4 separate regions of the Homo sapiens genome follow, and all the other regions are linked to region 1. Evidence: promoter capture Hi-C in 16 types of primary human blood cells and fetal thymus (Javierre and others, 2016). All regions are on one chromosome and are shown on one strand. Each heading gives the region's core, a stretch centred on a gene start or on the middle of the fragment in contact. The rest is flanking DNA. Distances are from core to core; before and after follow the strand shown.

Evidence for each region. Contacts are between HindIII fragments. The CHiCAGO score rates a contact against its expected background, and 5 or more counts as called.
Region 2: a fragment that was not itself captured here is called in contact with the fragment with the promoter of ZNF648 in region 1 in 1 of 17 cell types (neutrophils); the score reaches 5.2 in neutrophils.
Region 3: a contact is called between a fragment that was not itself captured here and the fragment with the promoter of ZNF648 in region 1, in 1 of 17 cell types (neutrophils). The highest score is 6.8, in neutrophils.
Region 4: a contact is called between a fragment that was not itself captured here and the fragment with the promoter of ZNF648 in region 1, in 1 of 17 cell types (erythroblasts). The highest score is 6.2, in erythroblasts.

Annotation. Positions count from the first base shown.
Region 1 is chr1:182,060,029-182,064,014 of GRCh38, forward strand. It overlaps ZNF648 (zinc finger protein 648), which reads right to left and starts at 1,684. Exons shown (of 2, transcript NM_001009992.1): 1 at 1,540-1,684. The HindIII fragment of the contact is 14,548 bases long and covers 1-3,986 here.
Region 2 is chr1:182,556,611-182,560,596 of GRCh38, forward strand. It overlaps RGSL1 (regulator of G protein signaling like 1), which reads left to right. Exons shown (of 22, transcript NM_001137669.2): 22 at 3,669-3,986. Among named protein-coding and RNA genes, the nearest start is that of RNASEL, 31 kb to the right of the region's middle. The HindIII fragment of the contact is 2,628 bases long and covers 368-2,995 here.
Region 3 is chr1:182,478,802-182,482,787 of GRCh38, forward strand. The region is part of intron 6 of RGSL1 (regulator of G protein signaling like 1); the gene reads left to right. Among named protein-coding and RNA genes, the nearest start is that of RGSL1, 31 kb to the left of the region's middle. The HindIII fragment of the contact is 3,594 bases long and covers 1-3,459 here.
Region 4 is chr1:182,420,950-182,424,935 of GRCh38, forward strand. No RefSeq gene overlaps it. Among named protein-coding and RNA genes, the nearest start is that of LINC00272, 15 kb to the left of the region's middle. The HindIII fragment of the contact is 837 bases long and covers 1,777-2,613 here.

The DNA of each region.
Region 1 (3,986 bases), core at 434-2,933:
AAGAGCAGCTGCAGCATCCTGGGGTGAAAAGCCGTGGCTTTCTGCAGGCATCAAAGCCCCTTGTGTTTTCTGGGCCAAGGAACCTTGGCTACAGGGCCTCACTGCTGGGCTCCTCCCTGCTTTCATTGACCCAGATTGCCCTCCGCCAAAGAGAGAGGCCAGTGGCTGCCCATCAGAGCCAGGACCCATGTTGCAGAGGCCACTGCCTGTGGTGCTCAAGAGTATTAGTCACTGAGTATTTACCTTCTGAAAGCTCCTTCTCTCTACCTCTGCCCACCTTTCACTGCCATCTCAGACTGGATAAAAGGAGTGATCTTTGTATTTGGCTGGTACAGTTAACCCTATCCCCATCTCATTAAACTGTTCTTCCCTGGTTTCTGCCTGATCATGAGCCCAGTTACCCTGTGTGTATGAAGAGGGAGCAGTATGGAGGAATCCTCACTTTCTGCTCTGGATACAGAAGCCATGGATGGAGGGAGGACACATTGCAGTTGTGACTGGAATTCAGCATCTCACGTCTCTTTGTGCCCTAAAGCCCAGGGACCACTCCTCTTCTCTCACTGCTTCCCTCACCCATCACATGGCAGAGGGTAGCTGGCATGCCTTTTGACAGGAGCCCAGATCTGACATATTTTCAGCATAGTGGATCTTAGGGAGTGAATGTGTAGTTCATAGAGGGGACATACCACTAGCCAACCTCATAGAACTTGCTCAGACCAGCAGGCTTGATCCGGGGCTGTAGGTCCCCCAGCAGGGACAGCAAAGGGATGCTGGATTTGTATGAAACACATGTCTTAGGTCTCTTTCCCTCTTTACGACAACATACTGCCTGTTTCTGTGGCACTGTTCACAGATCACTGACTTTACCCGCTCCCCACCCCACCTCCAGCACAAATACCCCATTTTCCACAGTCTGTGTGTCATTCTTTTCCTCTGGGCCACAGGGGAGCCTCCTTAGGGTGGCACACAGCCCTCCACTAGCTAACCAATCTCCTCTCCAGAGCCCGTCAGGAGACTCTCTTTTCAGATGAGGTATCCCTCCTCCATCTGAAGCCATATCCCCAGTGAATATGTCCTGCTTTCTTCCTCCTGTCGCTGCCACACGCATGCTCTCGACCACCAGGAAGACCTGGAGGCAGGCAGGGGCACAGGGAGGGATTTTCTGGCAAAGTCTGCACAAATATACCTGGTCTGAAAGAGGAACACTGATGCCATGGTATGGCGGGCCTCTCTGCTCCCCAGATGTGCTAGTCCCCAGAGGCTGTCAGAGCAGTCCTTTGCTGGAACTTCCTCTGCACTTGCCAGCCAAGAGTGGACCAAATGCAGCCTTTGACTCCCCAACCTCATACATCCATCAACACTCTGCAGAAGCCTACCCTAAGGGCTTGTTGCAACCCCAGCCCATACCCCTCTTCTTTCCTTCATTCTTTCCAGATTGTACTGAAGTCCATCCTAGGCAGCCGCCTCCTACTTTCTTCTCTGCTCACCGCCTTCAGGCCTTGCTCTCCACTCCTGGCTCACACACAGACGGTTGCTTACCTGGGAAATGCAGACAGCAGTGTGGGGCCTCTGCCCTGGCTTCTGTGACACGTGGGCTCTCAGCAACAGGAACCAGTTAGGTACAAATCAGCAGAGATGGTGTCTCTGTCTCTCACGCTTTGTGTCCAGTCCAGCGGCTGCAGAGAGAGCCTCTGGAGGTGGGGCCAGTGTAATACACTCAACCTTCCTGCCTGCATCCAGAGAGCAGCCTGGGAAATAGAGTGGGGCTGCCCTCTCTCACTGCCTGAACCGATCCTCTGGCTCCCTCTGCTCCTGCCTCCCCTCCCTGCCAAAGCCAGCCTTCCTCCTTCCCTCCTCTCAGTCTTCCTGCAGGTGGCCCTATGCCTCTTGTTCACTTTCACTCCTTCCTTCCACAGAGCAGTCCATCCTTCACTTTAGCCCTGGTATGCCCATGGGCCACATGTCACTTGTGAGCTTCCTGGGTAGCATGCTTTTTCCCTCCTGGAAGGCAGAACAGAGTATTTGGCCTATATGCCCACCTCCCTATTCTAGTACCCACCTTTTGCAGGACTGTGAGTTGCAGAACTGTGAGGGGTTGGGATTCCCAGAATTCTTTGTAGCAGCCCATTCATTGGCTCAAAGATGCCCACAGCCTTTTAACTGGGAGTAGGGGTGCAGGGAGATGGTTTTCTGTCTTATGCATACAGATGCCAGGCCTGTCTGGGGTCTCTTTCCACTTTCAGCATTGATTCCCATGCAGGTTCATTTTGAAGAGAAGGATTGGCCCAAGGTAGAAGACTCAGTACATTCAGAATTTTTACCCACTCAAGTCTAATGTGCATTTATTAGGATGAACATTCAGGGCATTAAAATAGGTGATGGAAGTGTGGTTCCTGTGATGTCACTAGGTGGTCACAAAGTATACTGATTGACAGCACGGTCTGGGTCTGGGTTTGAATCTTACTACTTACTAGCTGTGTGATCTTGGGCAAGTTATTTAACCTCTGTGTGCCTTAGTGTCTCATCTGCAAAACAGGGACCAGGATACTATTGCCATCATGGAAGTTTGGGGAGTATTAAATGAGATAATGCATGTAAGGAGCTTAGTTCGGTGTTTGGAACATAGCAAGTACCCAAAAACGTTAGCTGCTTTCATTGTTATTATTGACGATTTTTAAAAATTTTAAGTTCCGGGATACATGTGCAGGATATGCAGGTTTGTTACATAGGTAAACATGTGCCATGCTGGTTTGCTGCACCTATCAACCCTTCCTTCACCTAGGTATTAAGCCCGGCATGCATTAGCTATTTTTCCTGATGCTCTCTCCACCCCGCACTCCCCCAACTGGCCCCAATATGTGTTGTTCCCCTCCCTGTGTCCATGTGTTCTCACTGTTCAGCTCCCATTTATAAGTGAGAACATGCGGTGTTTGGTTTTCTGTTCCTTTGCCAGTTTGCTGAGGATAATGCCTCCAGCTCCATCCCTGTCCCTGCAAAGGATATGATCCTGTTCCTTTTTATGGCTGCATGGTATTCCATGGTGTATATATACCACATTTTCTTTATCCAGTCTATCATTGATGGGCATTTGGGTTGATTCCAAGTCTGCTATTGTGAATAGTGCGGCATTGAACATATGCATGCATGTATCTTTATAATAGAATTATTTATATTCCTTTGGGTATATTCCCAGTAATGGGATTGTGGATCAAATGGTATTTCTGGTTCTAAATCTTTGAGGAATCGCTATACTGTCTTCCACAATGGTTGAACTAATTTACATTCCCACCAACAGCGTAAAAACGTTGCTATTTCTTCGCAACCTCGCCAGCATCTGTTGTTTCTTGACTTTTTGATAATCGCCATTCTGACTGGCATGAGATGGTATCTCATTGTGGTTTTAATTTGCATTTCTCTAATGATCAGTAATGTTGAGCTCTTTTTTCATGTATTTGTTGGCTGCATGTATGTCTTCTTTTGAGAAGTGTCTATTCACATTCTTTGCCCACTTTTTAATGGGGTTGTTTGTGGGGGGTTTCGTAAATTTGCTTAAGTTCCTTGTAGATTCTGGATATTAGACCTTTGTCAGATGGATAGATTGAAAACATTTTCTCCCATTCTATAGGTTGTCTGTTCACTCTGATGATAGTTTCTTTTGCTGTGCAGAAGCTCATTAGTTTAATTCGATCCCATTTGTCAATTTTTGCTTTTGTTGCAATTGCTTTTGGCAATTTCATAAAATCTTTTCCTATGCCTATGTCCTGAATGTTATTGCCTAGATTTTCTTCTAGGGTTTTTATAGTTTTTGGTTTTACGTTTAAGTCTTTAATTCATCTAGTGTTAATTTTTGTGTAAGGTGTAAGGAAGGGGCCAGTTTCAATTTTGTGCATATGGCTAGCCAGTTCTCCTGGCACCATTTATTAAATAGGGAATCCCTTCCCCATTGCTTGTTTTTGTCAGGTTTTCGGAAGATCAGATGGTTGTAG
Region 2 (3,986 bases), core at 432-2,931, 500 kb after region 1:
CATCTGGACTAGAACACACCATTTCTGATTTTTTGTCCTGTTCTTGTTCTATGCCAACCTTTTATGTAACTTTTCATGCACAAAAGGAATAGTTCTTCCCGAGAGTTCTGTTCATTTGCCAACTAGTGGATAAAAAAACTTTAAGGTTTTTGACCTAAAGCCCTAAACTATTGTCATAATTTTAAATGAATAGGCCTATTTTCTCTCCTTTGAGAAAAAAAAAATCAGAAGTAAAATGAGTCAGAATTTCCTGAACAAGCCCTCCACCTGAGGTAACTGAGGACAGGTTGGCTTGTCATCTCTGTGGGTTACAGAATAGGAAAGGACTGGAAAGCTTTTTGGAGAATACTTTCAAATTTCTGGCCAAAGCTTCCTGCTGTGCCGAAGTTTTTTATTTCCCAGACTTTTCACAAGGATGAAAAAGGTGATGTTGGAGCAGAACTCATGAACACCTGAGACTCTGAGGTCACCTGGTGGGGCTGTGATTGCAGGAGATCCAGGAAGACTGTGGGCAGACATGACTCTAGAGGAGGCTGAAAAAAGGCCAGGTGTGGAGAGCCCCTTGGGCCCCTGGGAGAAGGCCCAGCAAGACAGGAAGGCCTAGACAAAAGGGCATGAGTCTTCCCTTCCCTATCAGGGCTAGAGCTTTAGAACAGGACTGCAATTAATAGAATGAAGAGTGGGCATGAAACAGAATCCCAGTTCCTAAAAATCAGGCAAAAACTAAGGCAAGACCCCAGGTAAGGAATAAAGAAGAGCTCAGTTAGTGGAATTGAGGTAACAGGGAAGCATTTCATCAAAAAAGAACAAGTCACAAGCCCCAGGCATGAAACTAGAGAGGATGTTAGGCCAGCAACAAGGTGACTGACAAGGATCTAGCAAAATACTAACTCGTGGTCACATACTGAAATACACTCACATTGGAGTGGGACATGGGTGAACCTGCATGTTGGCAATAGATGGGCCACACTTAAGGAAAAGAAAGGTACTTTTCCTGATCTATTTGAACTTAGATCTTTGCCCCATCTTCCTATTTCTTAATTATCTTTCTCTCCACATTCACCATGGTTATACTCATGTGTAGGTATGCAAACACACAAACATGTTATTTAAAAGGATTAATGATACTTATTAGGTCTTCCCTGAGTTGGAAAAAAAAATCTTCTCTTTTGTTAAGTTTTGTTGATTGCTTCTTTCGGTTTCTTACATGCTCCCTTCAAAGATCCCAGATCTAACATGTTCTAATGCCAGTTAGTCTAGTGTCACTAAGTCAGTCACCTGTAGAATACAGGCAGGGTGTATAAATGAGTAACGCAGTCCATGAGAGATAAGAAGGAGTGGTAGAGACTGTGGTGAACTGGAGAACGTGTCCCAAAGGGGTCAGAGACAGTCCGCTCAAGCCAGCCAACCTGGTGTTGCCAGAGCTTCTACTTAGGAATAAAAAGAAGGAAGGAAGGAAGGAAGGAAGGAGGGAAGGAAGGAAAAAAGTGAGAAATTAAAAATGTCTGTAACATTACAGTTAAAACAAAACTTAGTTAGGGACAAGACTGACCCACAGCCCAACAAATTGCATTCCTTGCTTTAATATTTTTCTTTGCCCTTGAAATTAGATTTGGGTCTTGGGTCTAGTTTGAATAAAAAATATGGGAGGGGAGGAAAAGGCGTCCCAACACTAGATCCAGGGGCCACTGCCGTCTAAGGAAAAGGCCAAGAAAGAGGGACCAGGTAAGGAACCTGGCCTACTTCAGTTCCTGTGTTAGTTTCCTTTTGCTACCATAACAAGTTACCAGAAACTTAGTGGCTTAAAACAACACAAATTATTATTTTACAAGTCTGTAGGTCAGAAGTCTGACCTGGGACTCAAGCTAACATCAGGGTGTCAGGAAGGCTGTGTTCCCCTCTGGAGGCTGTTGGGGAGGATCTGTTTCCTGGTTCATTCAGGTTATTGGCAGAATTCAGTCATTGTAGGTACAGGATGGAGGTCTCACTTCCTTCCTGGCTGTCAGCTGAGAGCCGTTCCCAGTTTCTGAGAAGCCACCTGCATTCCTTGGCTCATGGCCTTCTTCCTCTGTCTTTAAATCCAGCAATGGTGGGTCAAGTCCTGCCCGTTCTTTGAATTTCTCCTGCCTCTTCTTCTATCATCACATCTCTCTGGTTCCCTCTTCTGCCTCCCAACTCCCTTTTAAGGGCCCACCCAGACAATCCAGAATAATGTCTCTGTTTTAAGGTCCTTAGCCTTAATTCCACCCACCAAATTCCTTTTGCTATGTAAGGTCACACATTCACAGATTCTAGAGTTTAGAGCATGGATATCCTAGGGTGGTCACCAGAAATTCTACCGACCATGGTCCTAGACCACCTTCCTTAGAGAAGAATGTATGAACGCACAATCTGGGCCTCTGATGCGATTATTGCCTCCTAGAGACTTGGGAACACCATTTTTTTCTTTCTCTTGTCATAGCTCTGACTATTCTTTCTGATTCTTCTTCACATTTCTTCTGCTTCTTCCTTAAATATCAGTGCTCCCTGTGGCTCTCCTGTTGAACTTACCTTCTTACAACGCACTCTCCCATTTGCTTGAGATCCCTAGCCCCTAGCTTCTCCTCTAATAGGATCCACTGCAAATTTAATCCATTCTAACAGGATCCACAGCACAAATTTAATGTATCCCAAATCAGTTTTGGCCCCTTTATTTCTTTTCTCCAATCAACCCCATCTTCCAAGCTAGAAAACTCAGAATCATCCTCAACTCATTCCTCTGCCTCCCCTCCCATATTTTACATGCAGGAAAGGGAAGTTCTGCCACTCTGCCTTGGACATGTCGCTGCTATCCAGACCTTCCTCTCTATCCCACTGGCACTGCTTTTGTCGGGCCCTTGTCCCCATCACTGGCCCTGTGAAGTCACCACATTCCCCTCTCCACACACACCCAACACACTCTGCTTCATCCCACACACTGAGAACAAATCTGACCTGCTCATTTCCTCAGCGTGAAAGCTTTTATTCCCCTCCTTCACCTGGTTGGAAAAGTCTCACTCCTTTGTGGGACATACAAGGCCATTGCTAATATGGCCTCAGTTCAGGTTTCCAGGTTTATCTTTTTCCTCTCTCTATCTCATACACACCATTCTCCAGCAACTTGGTGATTGCCTAAAGGGCCCTTCCCTTTCTTCTCCATCACACAGACATCACACTGTGATACCTCCTGATTCCCCTTTCTCCTCTTACTCTCTCCTCTTAGTTTCTGAGACACATTTTTTCCTCTCCTTGAGATACTTATTCATGTATGTGTCTCACCTACTAGACTACATGCTTTTGTAGGGCAGAGACCAAGTCCTATTTTTATTTGTACCTAGAATAGACCAAGAACTATTTTTCACCTTACCTAGCACAGTGACATGCAGATAATAGTTGCCTCATAAATACATATTGAATGCATGACTAAATGAATTGTGCTGGGTGCTGGAAACGCAGTGGAGAAAACAGAATGTGAAGTTCATGCTTTCACTGACCTTATAGTCAGACTGTGCTATTAACAGAAAATCAGTTCAACTATCAATTACAGTTGTGACGACCACCATAAAGAAGAAATAGCAAATGCTATTGTCTTCATGAATTTTTCTGTATTCCAATAAATCTTGATGCTTTAAGAACTCTTTGTTTTTTAGGAATCTCATACAGCCCATTCAGACTAAAGGGTGATGGAAAGAAGCAGAGGAAAGCAGAAACAGCAAGAGTGACTGAGACCTGCTGTCATCTATATAGAAGCCTTTCTGATACATGTCAGAGAGTGACATGAAGTCTCCCCTCTTTATACACACGTATGAAAATACATCTATCCCTCATTTTGAGAGCCTCCAACTGATCCAAGTGTCATCCGGAGGAGGAGGTGGCCCGTATGTGCAGGACCTCAGGGTGCCAGCCCTCACCCATACACCTCCAGGGCTGCAGGTCATTAGCCAGAATAAAGGATGTCCACATTCACA
Region 3 (3,986 bases), core at 413-2,912, 420 kb after region 1:
TAAAAGTCAAAGACAAAGAATTTTGAAAGAAGAATGGGAAACGTGACTTGTAATATAAAAGGGAGGCTCAAAAAGGCTATCAGCAGATTTCTCAACAGAAACCTTGTAGTCCAGGAGAGAGTGGGATGATATATTCAATATGCTGAAGGAAAGAAAAGGAAAACTGGCAATTGAGAATTCTTTACCCAGAAAAATTATCCTTTGAGAGTGAAGAAGTGTTTAAAAAAAATCTTTCCCAAACAAAATATGAGTTTGTCACCACTAGACCTGCCTTACAAAAAGTGCTAAAGGAACTTCAAGAATAAGGTGAAATGAAAAGATGCTAAATAACAATACAAAAGCATGTGAAAGTATAAATCTCACTGCTAAAGGTAAATATAAGGACAAACACATAATACTGTAATATTGTGATAAAGGTATATAAATCACTTTGAACACTAGTGTGTAAATTAAGACAAAGTTGTAAGAATAATTATAACCACCGAAATTAGTTAATGAAAACACAATATAGAAAAAATAAAAGCTGACATCAAATATGTAAACTATGGCAAGTAGGAAGAAAAGTGCAGAATTTTGTATGCAATTGAAGTTATCAGCTTAAAGCAATTTAAGTTAAGTTGTTATCAGCTTAAAACAGATTTATGACTATAAAATGTTTAATGCAAGGTTCATGGTAACCACAAAAAATGTATAGTAGATACCTAAAAGATAAAAAGAAAATAAAGTATATCACTACAAAAAACAATCAAATCACAAAGGAAGGACAGCAATAGAGAAAGAGAGGGAAGAAGAGAGCTACAAAACAGAAAACAATTAACAAAATGGCAACAGTCTTTACCTAACGATAATTACTTTAAATGTAAATCGTCTTAACTCTGCAATCAAAAGACATTGAGTAGATGAATGTATAAAAACACAAGACCCAAAGATACAAAAGACTCATGATAGATTTAAGAACACAGATAGGCTGAAAGTGAAAGGTTGAAGAAAGATATTTTATGCAAGTGGTAACCCAAAAAAGCATATTTGGCTATACTAAATCAGATAAGATAGAATTTAAGTCAAAAGCTGTCACAAAAGCCAATGGAAGTTATTATACAATGATAAAAGGGTCAATTTAATAGGAAGCTGTAACAATTATAAATACATACGCACCCAACATCATCACCTAAATATATAAAGCAAACATTGACAGATCTGAAGGAAGAACTTAATCTTCTATTATTATTGTGTTGCTTTAATAGAAGACTTCAATACCCCACTCTTCATAATGGATACATCATACGGACAGAAAATGAACAAAGAAAGAGCAGAACTGACCAACCTCATAAAGCAACTGGACCTAACAGTCATATACAGAACTTTCTACTCAACAGCAACAGAATAATTATTCATCCCAGGTGCACATGAATATTCTCCAGAATAGATCATGTGCTAAGTCACAAAAAGGTCTTAACAAATTTAAGATTAAAAATATTCCATAGCCAGACGTGGTGGCACATGTTTGTAGTCCTAACTGCTTGGGAGGCTGAGGTAGGAGGATCACTTAAGCCCAGGAGTTCAAGGTTACAGTGACCTGTGATCATACTACTTCAATCCAGCCTGGGTGAAAGAATGAAACCCTGTCTCTAAAATAATAAAATGAAATAACATTACAAGTTTTTTTTTTTTTTTGACAGAGTCACGCTCTGTCACCCAGGCTGGAGTGCAGTGGCGCAATCTTGGCTCACTGCAACTTCTGTCTCCTGACTTCAAGCAATTCCTCTACCTTAGCCTCCTGAGTAGCTGGAATTACAGGCGCCCACCACCATGCCCACCTAATTTTTGCATTTTTCTTAGAGACGGGGTTTCACCACATTGGCCAAGCTGGTCTCAAACTCCCGACCTCAGGCGATCCACCTGCCTCAGCCTCCCAAAGTGCTGGGATTACAGGCGTGAGCCACCACGCTTGGCCACAAGTATTTTTTTTTATCAAGTGCAATGGAGTGAAACTAGAAATCAAGAATAGAAAATGGGAAAATTTATAAATACACAGAATTAAACAACACACTTTTAAACAACTAGTAGCTCAAAAAAAATCAAAAAGGGCATTTGAAAATACTTGAGACAAATGAAAATAAAAATAACATACCAAAACTTATGGGATGCAGCAAAAGCAGTACTAAGATGGATGTTTATAGCAATAAATGCCTACATTAAAAAAGAAAAATCTCAAATAAACCACCTAACTTTACACCTCACAGAACCAGAAAAAGAAGAACTAAACCTAAACTTATCAGAAGGAAGAAGAGGATGAAGATTAGAGAAGAAATAAATGAAATGGAGAATAGAAAATCAATTTTTAAAAACATAAAACTAAGTTTGTTTTCTTAAGCAATAAATGAAACCAACAAATCCTTAGCTAGGCTTAAAAAAAAGAGAGAGAAGTTTCAAATAAATAAAATTATAAATGAAAGAAAAGATGTTACAATTTATTCTCACAGAAATAAAAAGGATAATGAGACTATTATTAATAATTATACACCAACAAATTGGACAACCTACAAGAAATAAATTTCTAGAAACATACAACTTACCATGACTAAGTCGAGAAGAAATTGAAAGCCTGAACAGACCAATAACAGTAAAAGAGACTGAAGAAGTAATAATAAACTTCCCAAAAGAGAAAAACCAGGGACAAGATGGCGTCACTGGTGAATTCCATCAAATATTTTAATAATTAATACCAATCCTTCTTAAACTCTTCCCAAAAGTATAAGGAGAGAGAACACTTTCAAAGTAATTTATGAGGCTAGAACTCTGACACCAAAGCCAGACAAAGACACAAGAAGAAAAGTAAACCACGGGTCAATATCCCTGAGGAAAACAGATGCAAATATTCACAAGAAAATACGAGCATGGCCAGGTGCAGTGGTTCATGCCTGTAACCCCAGCACTTTGCGAGGCTGAAGTGGGATTGCTTGAGCCCAGGAGTTCAAGACCAGCCTAGGCAACATGACAAAACTCTGTGTTTATAAAAGATAAAAATATTATCTTGGCATGGTGGCGTGTGCCTGTGGTCCTAGCTACTTGGGATGCTGAGAAGGGAGGATTTCTGGAAGAATTTGAAGCTGCAGTGAGCCATGTTCGTGACACTGCATGCCAGCCTGGTGACAGGCAAGATACTGTCTTTAAAAAGAAAAGAAAAAAATACTAGCAAACCAAATACAACAGCCTATTAAAAGAATTATACACAATTACCAGGTAGGATTTATCCCTGGGTTATAAGGATGGCTTGACCTATGCAAATCAATCACTGTGATGCAACTCATTAACAGAATTAGAGGTAAAAATCACATGATCAGCTCAACAGATGCAGAAAAATTACTTGACAAAGTTCAAAATATTTTCATGACAAAAACTCTCAAAAATTACATATAGAAGGAAGGTACTCCCACACAATAAAGGCCATTTATGAAAAGCTTGCTGCAACATCATACTCAATGGCGAGAAGCTGAAATCATTCCCTCTAACATCCAGAACAAGCTAAGGATCCTCATTCTTGCCCCTCCTCATCAACAAAATACTGGAAGTCCTAGCCAGAGAAAGTAGACAAGAAAAATAAAAAATAAAAAAAAGCATCCAAATAGAAAAGGAAGAAGTGAAACTATATAGAAAAAGTAAAACTATCATGCCTCTGTTTGCAGATGACATGATCTTATATGTAGATAACCCTAAAATTACCACAAAAACAGTTAAAACTAATTAGCGAATTCAGTAAAGTTGCAGGATAAAATCAATATTCAAAAACAGTTGTGATTCTATACACTGACACTAAACCTGCATACTATTTTTCACACTGGATGCCCAAATTTACATTCCTGTTTGTGGGAGTGTAAATTGGTGTGACCAGTATGGAAAACAGTATGCAGGTTTCTCAAAAAATGAAAAGTAGAATCACCTTTTGATCCAGCAATCCCACTTCTGGGGATATATTCAAAGGAATT
Region 4 (3,986 bases), core at 945-3,444, 360 kb after region 1:
GTTGAATTGTTCAACTTCCTCATAGATTCTGGATATTAGACCTTTGTTGGATGCATAGTTTATAAATATTTTCTCCCATCTTTTAGGTTGCCTGTTTACTGTGTTGATAGTTTATTCTGCTGTGCGGAGCTCTTTAATTAGGTCTCATTTATCAATTTTTGATTTTGTTGCCATTGCTTTTGAGGACTCAGTCAGGAATTCTTTGCCAAGGCCAATATCCAGAATTGTATTTCCTAGGTTTTTTTCTGGGACTTTTATAGTTTGAGGTCTTACATCTAAATCTTTAAGCCATCTTGAGTTAATTTTTGTATATGGTGAAAGGTAGGGGTCCAGTCTCATTCATCTGCATATGGCTAGCCAGCTATCCCAGCACCATTTATTAAATAAGAAGTCCTTTTCCCATTGCTTATTTTTGCCAACTTTGTTAAAGTCAGATGATTGCAGCTGTGTGGCTTTATTCCTCGGTTCTCTATTCTGTTCCATTGGTCTATGTGTCTGTTTTGGTTACTGTAGCCTTATAGTATAACTTTAAGTCAGGTAATGTGATACCTCCAGCTTTGTTCATTTTGCTTCGGCTATTTGAGTTCTTTTTTGTTACATATGATTTTAGAATACCTTTTTCATTTTTAAAAATTTTAATAGCTGGGCGTGGTGGCTCACGCCTGTAAGCCTGTAATCCCAGCACTTTGAGAGGCTGAGGCAGGTGGATCATCTGAGGTCAGGAGTTCAAGACCAGCCTGACTAACATGATGAACCCCCGCCTCTACTAAAAATACAAAAAATTAGTTGGGCGTGGTGGCGGGTGCCTGTAATCCCAACTATTCAGGAGGCTGAGGCAGTAGAATTGCTTGAACCCAGGAGGCAGAGGTTGCAGTGAGCCGAGATCATGCCATTGCACTCCAGCCTGGACAACAAGAGTGAAACTTTGTCTCAAAAAAAAAAAAATTTTTTTTAATAGAGATGAAGTCTTACTATGTTGCCCACACTGGTCTTGAACTACTGGCCTCAAGCAACCCTCTTGCCTCAGCCTCTGAAAGTGCTGGGATTACAGGCATGAGCCATTGTGCCTGGCTGAATTTTTTTCTAATTCTGTGGAAAATGACATTGGTAGTTTGATAGAAATAGTATTGGAATCTGTAGATTGCTATGACCATCTTAATAATATTGATTATTCCAATTCATGAGCATGGAACGTTTTTCCATTTGTTTGTGTCATCTATGATTTCTTTCAGCAGTGTTTTGTAGTTCTTGTAGAGATCTTTCACCTCCTTGGTTAGATGTATTCCTAGGTATTTTTTGTGTATGTAGATATTGTAAATGGAATTGTTTTCTTGATTTGACTATCAGCTTGATTATTATTGGTAAGTAGAAATGCTACTGATTTTTTACACTAATTTTATACCTTGAAACTTTACTAACTTGATTAGTTCTAGGAGCCTTTTGGCAAAGCCTTTAGTGTTTTCTAGGTATAGATTCATATCATCAGTGAAGAGACATAATTTGACTTCTTCTTTACCTATTTGAATGTCTTTTATTTCTGTCTCTTGCCTGATTGCTGTGGCTGGGACTTCCATTACTATGTTGAATAGTAGCAATGAGAGTGGGCATCGTTGTCTTGTTCTTCTTCTCAAAGGGAATGCTTCCAGTTTTTGCCCATTCAGTATGGTGTTGGCTGTGGGTTTGTCATAGACAGCTCTTATTATTTTGAGATATGTTTCTTCAATGCCTACTTTGTTAAGGGTTTTTAATCATGAAGTAATGTTGGATTTTATTGAAAGCTTTTTGTGCATCTATTGAGATGATCATATGGATTTTGTTTTTAATTCTCGTTATGTGGTGAATCACATTTATTGATTTGTGTGTTTAACCAATCTTGCATTCCAGGAATAAAGCCTACTTTGATCTTGGGGCTTTTGATACTGAGAGGCTGGGCAGCTGCATGGGCAGAGGGAACAAGTAGGCAAAGACAATATTTGTAAACTGGTGAGTTTTGGCTCTATCAGTAGCTCAAAACTATAGCTTTCTATTGGATTATTAACTGTTTTTTACTTTTCTTTTCAAATAAACCTGTTTGACTTGGAATGAAATATCTAAAGCTACAAATTCTTATTGCAAATAAAAAATCTGAAGGCTGGTTAGTAGCTGGGCTGTGAAGAGGTCTTAGGCCCTGGCTGGGATTATCTAGACATCAGATATATTTCCCTGAGTGCTATGGCCTTGCTTGTTTCATTCTGCCATGGAGAAGCTGCAGTGTCAGCTCCATATGGGCAGGCATAGAAGCCCACTGTGCCCTATGAGGGAAGAAAGTCTGACACCTCCTTCTAGAATGGAGTTTGAATTTCTTCAAAGTGGAACTCTGAAGGTTAACTATGGGAACCAGCAGCCAGGACTGCCTCTGGGGTGTGATCGGAGGGGCCTTTGCAAATTTCATCCCCTAAATCACCTCTTCTATTTCCCTGATCCCCAGCCCCAACACCCCAAGCCAAGATATCTGAATTCTGTCATTGTGTGGAGACTTGGGGCTGGGGTCTGGACTTGGTCTGCCTGAACTTAAACCCTGACTGTAACGTGTATTAACTGCATGAACTTTGGGTTAATTACTTAGGCTTTCTAAGCTTCAGTTTCCTCATTCTCAAAATGAAGATACTAACTGGCATTATTATTAACATAAATTAGGATTTTTTGTGAGATTGAATGATAAAAAACATATAAAACCTAACTTAGCATCTGTCACAGAGTAACTCACAATAAACCTTGGCAAAGGAGCACTAAAAGCTTAAAGAATAAAATAGATAAATAGATAAAAAAGAAAGAATAAAATAGATAAAACATGGACATGTGAAAATGTTGCCTTGGATAATGATAATATTTTTAGAAAATACTCTTACTAGCATTATTATTCTCAATTTTGACAGCCCCCTAGTGACTAAGTACAATTATCAGTCTTTTAAAATAGATGATGATTTCTGAGGTTCAGAGTAGCTATGTGACTTTCCAAGTTTATGTAGCGAGAAAAATTAGGAATTCAACTGGATGGCCCAACTTTGAAAGCCAATTTTTTCATTACAATGTGCTGCCAGCATGAATGCTTAGAGAGGAGAGGACAGGGCAATATTCGATGTCACACAAGAAGGAAATGTGAAAGGGTGCCCAGATTGACACTTTTGTGCATGGAATTAGGTGTTATCGTGGAATCATTGAGAATCCACATTCAGTTGCACTCCACTATCTTTTAAAAAATCATATATAAGAAACTTCAAGTATTCAAAATATAGAGAATGTTCAAAAAAGGACAGGCCAGGCACAGTGGTTCATGCCTGTAATCCCAGCACTTTGGGAGGCTGAGGCAGGCGGATCACCTGAGGTCAGGAATGGAGACCAGCCTGGCCAACATGGTGAAACTCCATCTCTACTAAATTAGCTGGGTGTGGTGGTGTGCACCTGTAATTGCAGCTACTGGGGAGGCTGAGGCAGGAGAATCGCTGAACCTGGGAGGCAGAGTTTGCAGTTTGCCAAGATCACACCACTGCATTCCAGCCTAGGCGACAGAGCAAGACTCTGTCTCAAAAAAAAAAAAAAAAAAAAAAAAGAACAAAAGATTACCCTTAAAAACTTCAGCTAGAATCAATGTTCTGAAGTCTTGGGTAGTGAATTATGCAAAGAGCCACTTTACTCAGAGCCAATTTACTTTCTTTAGACACAATGTTAACCAGTTTGCCTAACTGATTCATTCCCTACATAATAGGAGATTATAAGAAACATACTAATTGAAGAAGAAAATTCGCATTGACAGTGGAAAGAACGAGATAGCAGTCTGACAAGAGAATAAACTCTGACAAGCAGAACAAAATCCTAAAAGATCTTAACAGTTTGGGGCTAAGTGTAAATAATCACAGCACTCACCCTGTATCCTTCTCCCACCGCTCATGGTGCTCCTGTATGATGTGGGACAGGATAAGTAAGTGAGCCATAAACAATTAAAAGTT